Regions from separate parts of the Homo sapiens genome. Here regions 1, 2 and 4 are each linked to region 3. Evidence: promoter capture Hi-C in 16 types of primary human blood cells and fetal thymus (Javierre and others, 2016). All regions are on one chromosome and are shown on one strand. The core of a region is centred on a gene start or on the middle of the fragment in contact, and the rest is flanking DNA. Distances in the headings are between cores, read along the strand shown. Region 1 has its middle 120 kb from the start of SYT6. Region 2 has its middle 140 kb from the start of SYT6. Region 3 holds the start of OLFML3 (olfactomedin like 3). Region 4 has its middle 96 kb from the start of SYT6.

Region 1 (2,816 bases), core at 59-2,558, 290 kb before region 3:
AAGACATAGGCTTGGAGCCTCTGGTGGAACTCAAAGCTGGGTTATTGGTAAGGACTAATGTTATACTACCTCTTTTCATCTTCTGTGCCACTCTCAGTGCCTTTTCTTGAATATATTTTTTTCTCTCTTGGGGGAATTTAAAATTTTTAAAAATCTTTTTGAGAGCCCATTGTAATACCAAGCTTCCTAAAGTAAATCTAACCTAATGTGGAAAAATTATTAGCTAAGTTTCTTTTATTCACATTAGAGGGTATTTGAAACATTGATCTTCTGACCACCTTTGATAGATCATGGCCACTGATAAGTCTCCAGAGATGGATTTACTGCTAGTGAAACACATGATGTATTCTGCACTTCAGCAGAGCAAAGTTGGCCCCACACATAGCTGTAATGGAAAATGAGGTAGGGGATTTATATACTTAATTAAAAATAGCAAACTCTCAAATCCAGACCCACAAATTGACTTTTAGAGTTCTTGTTGCTGAAAGAGTTGCAAATCAAAGCAATTTCGGGTGAAAGTTCATTTTTCCTTGAGACCAGTTCTTTAAAAATTGAAAGCTTTAACTTGACATTAATTTCACTGATAATAAGAACATAAATGTAGCCTGAATTATATGACTATATATAAATCTGATTTATGAAAATCTGTCGAAGAAGCTATAAGGATCAGTAACAGACACAACTTGAGAAGGAAAATCACAGAATTGTCTAGCTTAATAACCCCTAGAGTGTATAAGACATATAATTTAAAATTTGTTGTGTTTGGATACAATGATCAAAAATAAACAAATCTGGAAAAATTGCAGAATTCCGAACAAGGGTAGGAAGCTGAAGTTACTGGTGTTATCCACACAAGGTCGCAATAAATTTGTTTTCCCTCTTATTCTGTTGTTCTGAAAATATTGTTTTGAACTGATAGCTGGTTCGCATGTCCTTGTGTTGCTCCATTTTATTATCATTCTGGGCCTTTTGAAGGACATAACTGCTTTTTAATCACACCAGCAACATAAACCATAATGACCTATTTTTTTCCTCATAAATGCCTTAAGACTGTCAGTACCTTAATATCCTGTGAGCAGTCTGAGGACAGGGACCATGCCGTTCAGCCTGTGTATCCAGCTCCGGGCACAGTGCAGGGCACAGAGGAGCTTGGTGACCATAATGAGTTCAACTGGATTATAGAAGCCAACACATGCAGCCTTTGGTGGCCCCTGAGCCTCAGGAAAGCAAGTGATTGGATTATTCCATTGTCTGGGAAGTATCAGAAACTGGGCTGGGGACAGATGTGTAACTTGCATGTCTTGGATCTTCAGTAACACAGGGCCTCATTTTTTGTGACTTGAAGAGAGGTAGATTCAGAGGCAGAGAAACTAAATAGGCAAAAATGTAGAACACAAGAAAGGTTGCTAGAGAGCCTCTGAATGTCTTTGTCACAAAAAAGAAATGTGAACCTTATCATACAGCCTAAAGTCTTCAGCTGGTCTCCTTCAAGGTTGAGCGATTCTCTGCCAGAGGGAAGAGGGATGACTAGGGGGAGCTAATGGTTTCCCTGTTATCAGCTGTAAACTGAATGCTGTATTAGTTTCCATAAATACTTGGCACATGAGTAGTAAGCAGGGAATAATGATCAGTCCAAATTACTCATTTGTTACTCTATTAGTGGAAAATATAGTGTCAGCTGATGCAGTCAGCTTGACTCAAGTCTGTGATACAAGCCGCAGGCAGACAGACCATCAGGGGCTGCAACACAGGGTCCAAGGTAGCCTGTTTGGGTGAGAAGAACCCTCCTGAGCATGCTGCCTTCCCTTTTGTACTATACCCCTGCGGTTAATCTTCAAACCAACTCCAAGCCCTGCCACTCACAGTTCTTTAAACCACCTCAGTCTCTTCTGTAGGACTTTAAGCTACTCCTCATGGCACTGCAACAGTGCCCAGGGGCCACTTGCTGGGGCACACCGGAGCCTTTGACCAGGGTGCCCTGGACAACCTCACTTCCTTTTTCTCCTATACTCTAATCTGTCCTATTAATAAACTAGTTCCATACTCCAGGCAAGCTTGGATTTGGATCTGTAAGACAAGTTGGAGAAGGTAACTCATCTCTTTGAGACTCAGTGGCCTCATCTCTAAAGTGTAGGGTGATCAACCGTCCAAGGTTTGTCTGGGACACAGGACTTGTAGTGTTAAAACTGGGATGGTCCCCAACAAAGAGGGATATGTGGGTCATCCTATACAAGCAGGAATACTAACACCTTATTGTGTGGATGAGCTCAAATATTGTTTGCAGAGTAGCAGACAGGAAGTAAGTGGTCAACAATGGTAGTTCCCACCCTCCTCCCTCAGTTTGGTGAATTTTGAAACAAGGGTTTGTGAAACACCTCCAGGTACCGCTTTAGGTGTTGGGGGCTGTGAGCAAGTGAAGTCTAAGACACAAATCTTGGCTTCAAGGTGTCCCCAGTCCATCTGGGAATGTAACAGCAATACACATGAAACTGCTATTTTATTTACTTATACTTTTATGCTTCATTTTCTTCCAAAAAAGGATTGAATTGGAGGAAGCTCAGAATAAACGTACATGAAAATAAGAGTTGAAGGACAACAACCACGTAATTAAGGGAGACAGTGGTGGAATAATTATACTAGAAACCCAAGGCTAAGGAAATCTACTCCAATTGAACACAAAACAGCCAGAGAACAAAACAACACAGGGAAGACTAAAATGAAACAGTAAATTATACGGTGTCAGCACCACACGTTCCAGATAGTGCTCTAGAAGTTCAAGGTGGTGTTTGGTGATGATTTTCCTCAAACCAGTTGCA
Region 2 (2,700 bases), core at 111-2,610, 320 kb before region 3:
CTTTCTCTTTCTGGAATGTCTATTATTTAAAGGCTGATTCTCTTTATTGGATTCTCTAGTTGTCTTATCTTTCCTTTTTCTACTTATTTTTTATTCAACTTTCTAGGAAATTTCCTCAATTTTATCTTCCAAACTTCCTATTGAGTTTAAAATTTTTTGATTTTATTTTTAACTTCTGAGAACTCTTCATTATTTTCTGAATGTTTATTTTTTAGAGTCTCTTATTCTCAAATTCATGGATGCAATTATCTAACCCTATTATAAGGATAACATTTACAGATTTCTAAATGTTTTCTTGTTTTCATTACTGTCTCCCTCTAAGTTTCTTTTATCTACTGGTCTGTTTTGATTTCTTTCACATTCTAGGTACTCTCCAAATGTCTGTTAATCTTTGTCCATTTTTAAGACACGAAGGCATTATCAGCATGGTAAGGCGCTAAAATGCTGATGCAAAGCTCTGTGTGCATATAAAGGGCTTATTGTCTGGTGACAGTAAACAGTGGTGATCAGATGGGAACCAGGCTGTTTTGTTAAAGATCTCCCAAAGCAGCATCCGTAGACATTTCTCTTGAGCTGGCCAATTTCCCTATTGAAGAATCTTTGAGGAATATAAGGTTGGCTTCTGATATTCTGGAGCAGAGTGTGGCGGTGCGGGGTGGTGGGAGTGGGCGGGACTTGGGTTCTAAGTATTCACACGATCCCCGTTTTCGGTAGGGAGGCTAATAGCCATCCTCAGTTGGACCCAGTCTCCCCATGTTCCCCAAAGAGCCTGAATGGTTCATTTCTCCAGGGAGTAAATCCCTGGTCCCGCTAAATATGAAAAAAAGAAGCTAGACCAAAAAAAAAAAAAAAGAAAGAAAAAAAGACTGAGTGGGTAAAAAGTCAGCCTGGGCAAGGCAAGAGGAGGGATAGGTGGCTCTCATTGCTTCTTTCAGTCTTTTGATCGCCTTTTTTCCAGCCCCAATATGTACTTCTATCTTTTGAGGCACATAGTGTCTTCAATTCCTGAACCTTTCTAGAGATCTGAAGTATAGAGAGTCTCGCTTCATCTTGATTTCCTCCATCTTGCTGGCTTTGATCCAAATTATCTCTGCTCATCTGCTTCACAGCTTCCAAATTTTTATAGACATTTATTATCTGCTGAATTTCCTCCCTGGTCTCGTCTTTGTAGTCCGTTTGTTTTTTAAATACTATACTATCATCTTAGTGGACTTTTGGTAGGAAACAGATAAAAGCATGTGTTCTAGTCTCCATGTTTAGCCAGAAGCTCCCCAGAGCAGCCACTCTTAACTCCTGGGCTTAGAAGAGACTGATGGGGAAAAAGCCTCCTGATTGTGGAACTTGAGCCATTGAATTCCAGGCTAGCCACTGCTGCTTTGGTTCATAGTACACACAAGGTACGCTATATGAACTAACCTTTTAGCAATGCTCTTTATGGCTGTCTCCTTGGAGAGCTTCAAGAAGTGAGGCATTATGCACCAGGTAAGCATCTTTAGTGGGATAGGAGTCATTTGGCCAAGTCGGTTGTAAAGTAAATCCCTTTCCCCATTATTCTGTTGCCAGTTGGCTTCACTTAGCAAACATACGGTTAAGTAGTTAAAGTAGCCGGTACACTATGAACAGCCAGCAGTCAGCCTCCTAGGGCTTCTTGGTGGGTTCACAACCACCACATTGGTTTGGTTGCAAGGGAAATTCAGCTTTTGGCTTAGCTAAGTACAGATTTATCTCTGATAATGTAAAATCATATTGAAATGGCTGTGTAAACACTGCTCTCTCCTTTCCTGCTTGTCATCTGAAACACTTTCCACTTTTAAGGCCCAGATGAAATGCGAGTTCTTCTGTAACTCTTCTAGTGCTCATCTCCATGTTCTCAGGGTGCTTTTGATGGGACTCTGGGATTACTTTTTCTAAGAATTGCATTCACTTGCTTAATAGTTGCCCTCTGTGGTTGGACAGGGAGCTCATCAAGGCCAGCAACTCTCTCTCCCTTCTACTCTAGTACCCAGCAGGGTGCCTGACAATACGTGGGAGCAGCCCTTGTGTATTTATTGACTGACTGAGAAAAGAGTCTTCTATTAGTAGAGCCTGTGTATCCTTTTACCAGGGATGGTAAAAGGACATCCCAGTGATGAGTTTCTAGTGAGCTACCTTTTGGCTTCACATTATGGCCTCTAGAGACAACTCAAGGCTTTCCTTGGCAATATCCCTTCCCCTAAGCCCCCTGCCAGGAGAAGGGGCTCAAGTGTGAGTCAAGAACAAAGTAGAATGACAAGACAGAGTTAGTCTCTGCCTTGGGGGTGCACTTCTGGAGGAAGGCTGGGAAACTGGGGTCCACACTCTTGGCTCTCCCCTTGGATCCTGCTGCTCCTTTGGGCTGTGGCTTGCTCCTGGCTGCTGGAGTGACGTGAAGGGCCCATGTCATCTGGTTTTCCTTGTCCTGGTCCCTCCTGTGGTCATCAGGGTTACACTGTGCCCTGCAAACATCCTGTGCAGGTTCTAACCCAACGGAAGTCATCAGCCCTATGTATCTACTCCAGTTGGAAAATTCCTTTATTTCAAGGCATCAAGTACTGGAAAGCGAATGATTTTCCTAGTTCAACATTTGCGCTAAACACAGGCTGTGTTCTCACAGGGGCACTGCAGAATGCGTTTCCCAGTTCTTATAATAAAAGAATACTGCTGGTAAGGATTAACAAAGAA
Region 3 (2,819 bases), core at 217-2,716:
AAAGCACAGGAAAAGGAAATAGAGGCAAGAATTAGATGCCTCCAGCAGGAACTCCCCCAGGGTGGGTGATCTGGAGAATAGTGAGCATTTGCCCAGTGGTTGCCTCCAATCTTAGGGAGAATTGAGAAAGAGCGGGTACCACAGCGGCCTGGATCCCCAGAACCTCTCCTTAATAGACCTGGCATTACAGAGGTTTCCCTAAAACAGATTCCAGAAGACAGAGCCACAATGGACTGGGACAAAGCGAAAAAAAGAGTAAGAAGCAAGGAAGGAAGAATATCGGTTCTGAGAAGAGTTAGGGGCCTGCTTTCAGATTATTTACCTGTCACCATATCGTACTTCTCATTCCTTCTTCCCTTGCCTTTGGTCCCAGGGCCTCCAGTCACCTTCTCATCAAACTCTACACAGGGCAGAGCTGGGTTCTGGGTCTCCAGATAGTCTACCTCCCGCTCCAGACGATCCACTCTCCCGGAGATGGTGTCGGCCTCAGTTCTGAGTGCCTCCCGCTCCTTCTCTGCCACCTCCAGCAGTGGCAGCATCTTGTTCTTGAAGTCCCGCAGCTCAGCAGCATGCCGACTACTCTGGTCCTGGCACTGGGCCAGCCGTTCCTGAAGGGATGGGGGATCAGGAGGGAGGCTGCAGGGTTACAACTCCCAGGCAGGGAGAGGCCCAACTCGGGAGTCAGGAATGGGAAAAAAAGAGCAAACTCAGCCAGGCTTCAATATCCCCTTCCACTCCTGCAGAAAAGGAAACCAGATGTGCAGAGGTGCTAAATGTGCAAAGAGCCTAGCTGAGATTCACCTAGGCCCCTACCCCGACTCCATGTCCTCCAGCCTGTGTTCTCTGTGAGCAGTGCCACTGAGCCATCTGAGCCTCTAGGCAGGTCTAAGCGCATGAAGGTGTGAAGAGGTCTCTGCTCCCTTAGCAATTATCCTCTCGGACACTAAAATGCTACGGATCTCAACCTGTTAAAAAGACAGGAAGTTATAGATTCCCCGGGAACCTCCAACTTCAACAGAATCATCACCTTCTCTGGAGATGCAGCCCCACAATTTTGGCTCTCGTTTCCACTCTGCCCCCTTATTCTATCTAATCCCAGAGGTAAAACGCAAAAGTCGATTTGCTTTGGAATTGTTCTATGTGGGGTAAGAGGAGGGCTTGTCATTCCGAAGGTCCTCTTATTAAGAGAGAATTTTCTGTAGACTCTAACAGAGCCCTTTCTTGTTATCCCCAGATCCCTAACAAACTGGTTGAACCAATAGCCCTGGAATCCTTCTAGGCGGGGCTAGAAGAGAAAGGGGTCCCTCACCTCTAAAGCAGCTAGTCGGCGTTCCATGTACTCCACAAGGTGGTGCTGCTGTCCTTGGAGGGGTCCCGACCATGACAAAAGGAACAAGATGAGGAGAGGGGTGCTGGGCCCCATGGCAGCCTGGAGAGTGGTGCCAGAGTAGAAGGAACGTACAGTCAGCCTCTTCCCCTCAAGCCCGAGGGTTAGCTTTGGAGGCGGGGTGGGGGCGGTGCCTTCTCTCCTGATCTCTGGGTCTCTCTCACTACTCTGGAATGCTTTCAGTTCTCTTTACAACCCCCACCCCCTCCTTTCCGCCAGGATTGATCAAACACAGATGGCCCCATTGCACAGCAGCCAGAAGCCTTAACCACCTCCCGCCTAGGCTGTAGGGTCCTCTGGAGGGGAAAGAGATGGAAACCCGAAAGCAGAGGCCTTCTAGGCAGTCAAGCAGGGAAGCTAGCTGCAGAAAGCAGAGACCCCAGAGAAAACTCAGCAAACGCCATTCCTGTTTTAGGAAAGTTTCACCAGTGCTGACTTAAGAAACTGACATTTTTCATTAATCTTTCCCTTTCCCTGCAATAGAGTGGGTTTTCAGCCTTGTTCAGTAGAAGCTGGGAGCTGGGGAGGTGAGGCTTGAAGGGAGGAAGCAGGAAAACAATGGCCCAAGTGGTCAAGCCCAACTTATTCTAAAGCTCATTGGCGCCACCTTGTGCTAAGCAGCTGGTGTCATCTCTCATGATAATACAGAAACTAAGGCTTAGACTTCACCCCATGAGGAAAATTTTCCACAAAAGCCAAATATATTGAATTTACAGGGGTTTTCACCACTGAAATGCATATTTCCCCCAAGACTATCCAATTACTACTTTGGGGGCTATGCAAATATCTGATTTAGCCCAAGGAAGAAAATATAACTGAGATTAAAAAAAAAAAAAAAACAGGTCACTGAGAAGTTAGTAAATTAACTCGATCGTCTGGAAGTTAAGGCTGACAGCAGCGCTGTTTTACATGGCTTTCCTTTGCTTGAAAGAGGCCAGATATAGTCTCTCACCAAAACTGAGGAGTGTTCAGTGAGTTCACACTAATTTACTATACATTCATGTATTGCGGGGGGGCGGAATCTGATATATATATATATGTTGTTGCAGTCTAGATCAATGTATTCTGACTTCCTTACCACTGGGAGAAAAGACTATTGGTTATTTCTCTTGGTTGTGGTCCAAAAGGGTATTTCTGAGTGTTTCTCATTTCTATATCCCAACTAAGGCTGCAGGAGCCCAAAATGAATTAATGGCCACCATAAGGTAGACTTGGGCCATAAGGTAGACACACGGGCCGAAAAAAAAAATCAAATAGAGCATTTACTCAGAGACCTGCAGTCATTAATCGAAACAAACCCCTATTTCTTTATCGGGAGAAATTCTATTCACTTTAGAATCAACAGAATCTGATGAGAGGTTCCTTCTGTAAAAAGGACCATGACTCTAACAGTACAGTTTGAAAGGAGGGGAAAAATAGCAGCTTCCTGTGG
Region 4 (2,700 bases), core at 192-2,691, 270 kb before region 3:
CACGGGGGTGGGGAAGATGGGGTGTTAGTGCTGAGCTTGAGGCTGAAGAGGTTCGGTGGGCAATTGTGTAAATGTATTTGGGGCTCAGAAGGATGACAGTGTTTGATCGTGAGTCGCTGACACACGCAGGGTCACTGAAGCCACATGAGTAGAGGTGACCACTAGGGAGAGCACCTAGTTAGCAAAGAGATAAAATTTCTTTATCAGTGAAACAGCTAAGGTCAGAGATTCAAAGAATAAGTGAGCTATCATACGTAAAGTGCCTAGGAGGGTACCTGGCCTACAGCTGGGTGGCAGTCAATGGCAGGGCCCTTCTCTTCAGCTCCCTGTGGTGCAATGGGGCAGCTCTGTCCCACATCCAGTGCCATTTTCAGACTCTTGCCTGATCTCACTGTTCTTGTCTGCCTCTCTCTTTGATTTAATAATGTTAGAGGAGCCCCTGCTTACCAGGCCTCTGATTTAATAAAATATGACCAGAGTGATTCCATCTTAAATTGAGTAACTAGGCACTCACACAGCACCTATAAGGTTAATACTTATGGTTTGAAAATAGCCACATTCTAAGCTGGCCACCACTTATAAGTGCAGAATATTTGTGGCCATACAGAACATCTTTCACCAAGCCCACAGAACATCCAGATGTTCTGAGTGCCCCCCACTTGACTTAAAGATAATGTTAATGAGCAGGCTTAGGTTGAAAGATGAGTGGTCACTGATAGCACCAATAGCCCCTACCTTTAATGCATACATCTGCACATTTCAAGCTTAATTATAGCTCCTTATAGTTTCTTAAAAGTAGCGACCCTAACAAAGGAAGGACACGAGTTCCTCCTCCTGCTTTCCAAGGACTCTCTACTCCATAATGGAGTAGTTTCCAATAATCTTGCTTCTTTCACTGTGCTCCCAAGCCCTGTGACTCGGCCTGAGTTCTTTCCTGCACAAGATTCAAGAACTCTATCTTGGGGTCTGGATTGGGACCCCTTTTTATGGCAACAATACCACCTGTGAAAATCTAAGCTTGTCCTCTCTTCTTACCTATGTCCCAGAAAATGAAAATGGGCTGCTTAAAATGCAAGCCCTGACCCAAATCCCGTAGTGTTTAGAAATAAATTCCCAACCAAGCAGGACTCGACTCAGAGACGGTGGCTGCCTGCTGCTCCAGGGATGAATCTTAAAGCCACGGTTTGCTTCATGATACATAGGAGAGAAATCTGGTCAGGAAACTCTAGAAAATCTTTTCTCAGCCATCTGTCTTCCCCTGAATGGCAGCCAGAGATGGCTCCCCAAGTCGTGTGCGGCAGCTCAGTTGGAAAGGGGCCGGGGCTGGGGTGCCAGGGCAGGGTGCTAGTGCTCTGTGTTTGGTGAAGGCACCGGCTGGCAGGTTACGCCCCGGAACAGTCAGTCAGCAGTACCAGATTATCCAAGGATGGGAAAATTAGCTTCTGAAGCCTTCCCAGATATCTTATTATTGAAATTGACTTTTCATCCGATGAGATGTAGTTGTGTTGAATCGACAGCCAAGCCCTGACTCCAGGTAGTGGCAGACTCTATGATGCTATTTTTTCAACTTAGTACTAGTTTGAGAGAAAATGTGAACTGGATACCTAGAATAGACTCTTCGCCAAGGGCTGCAGGAGTCTCAGAGAGATTCTATTATGCCCAGTTGCCCTGAGGGTCTCAGAGCAGGAGTTAACTACTCTTCCTTAGAGTCTGTTGAAAGTGGGCTGACCCAGCGAAAAGCCTGAATCAATGAACTGTGCTTTCAAGCAGGTAAAAGGAACGAAAAGAAGAAAGGTGATGCTCTCCAGGAGAGGCAAAATGTTTGTATTATAAATAAATACTTTCTTATAAAGAAGAAAGCTTTGTGGCTTCGTCCTCTCCACTCTCCCCTCCCCGCCATTCAGACTGCAGCATTGCTGACTCTGTGCTCTTCTTGGTATATACCTGCCATTGATTTAGAGCCACAGGGAGAAGGCAGATGTCCTTGATTTATCTAACTGGACTGGTTTTCATTTATGTGCCTCAGGGGCAATTTTGGCTGAACTGCAACCCGGTTATTGGAAGTGTTCTTGTCCCCTTCCTCTGTCTCTATTTATATGCACGACACTTAAGCTTTGTAATTGGGAGAAGAAGAAAGAAGGGGTTTCATGGATCTCTTCTCCACTGTCTGTCCTTGGCCTGGGTTTCATCTCTACAGGGATAAGGATCAGAATTGGATGGAATTATTTTCATGGCAGACTTGGTGAGATTCTGGGCACAAGCTGGGATGCTTTAGGACCCAGGTGACAAAGTGCGGCCTCGGAGTAGGGAAAGGCCATTCTCCTCCCTCCGTACAGAACTCAGGATTGGTGGCCTTTGAAGGCGTTTTCAAGCTGCTTAACGGGTGAGTGGAAGCCAGAGGAAGAGGCACCTCAGGGCAGCCCCCTGTGGTTGGTGCTGCTGGAAGCCTGGCCTGTGCCCAACGTGAAGCTTTCCTGGGGCAGTTCCCAGAATTTACTAGGGGCCCCTTGAGGGGCTCAGTTCTGGTTGGGGAAGGGAGGGCTTGCTCAGAGTCATTGCAATTGGGATATCAACATAATCATGACCTTGTTTTATGTCCCCAAACTGAGAGGCCACGGGACCCAGGATACTTTGTAGGGAGAGTGCTGGCATCTCATCTTCTGGCCACCTCTCTGGCTTCAGTTGAACTAAGTGGCAACT

The links. Contacts are between HindIII fragments. The CHiCAGO score rates a contact against its expected background, and 5 or more counts as called.
Region 1: a contact is called between a fragment that was not itself captured here and the fragment with the promoter of OLFML3 in region 3, in 8 of 17 cell types (M0 macrophages, M1 macrophages, M2 macrophages and 5 more). The highest score is 27.7, in M0 macrophages.
Region 2: a fragment that was not itself captured here is called in contact with the fragment with the promoter of OLFML3 in region 3 in 5 of 17 cell types (M0 macrophages, M1 macrophages, M2 macrophages and 2 more); the score reaches 15.9 in M0 macrophages.
Region 4: a fragment that was not itself captured here is called in contact with the fragment with the promoter of OLFML3 in region 3 in 5 of 17 cell types (M0 macrophages, M1 macrophages, M2 macrophages and 2 more); the score reaches 16.7 in M0 macrophages.

The regions. Positions count from the first base shown.
Region 1 is chr1:114,269,250-114,272,065 of GRCh38, reverse strand. No RefSeq gene overlaps it. Among named protein-coding and RNA genes, the nearest start is that of SYT6, 120 kb to the right of the region's middle. The HindIII fragment of the contact is 1,496 bases long and covers 561-2,056 here.
Region 2 is chr1:114,293,300-114,295,999 of GRCh38, reverse strand. No RefSeq gene overlaps it. Among named protein-coding and RNA genes, the nearest start is that of SYT6, 140 kb to the right of the region's middle. The HindIII fragment of the contact is 8,600 bases long and covers 1-2,700 here.
Region 3 is chr1:113,978,121-113,980,939 of GRCh38, reverse strand. OLFML3 (olfactomedin like 3) reads right to left here and starts at 1,466. Exons shown (of 3, transcript NM_020190.5): 1 at 1,310-1,466; 2 at 323-608. The coding sequence starts at 1,423. RefSeq lists an enhancer at 1,389-2,222. The HindIII fragment of the contact is 3,076 bases long and covers 1-2,819 here.
Region 4 is chr1:114,248,484-114,251,183 of GRCh38, reverse strand. No RefSeq gene overlaps it. Among named protein-coding and RNA genes, the nearest start is that of SYT6, 96 kb to the right of the region's middle. The HindIII fragment of the contact is 843 bases long and covers 1,020-1,862 here.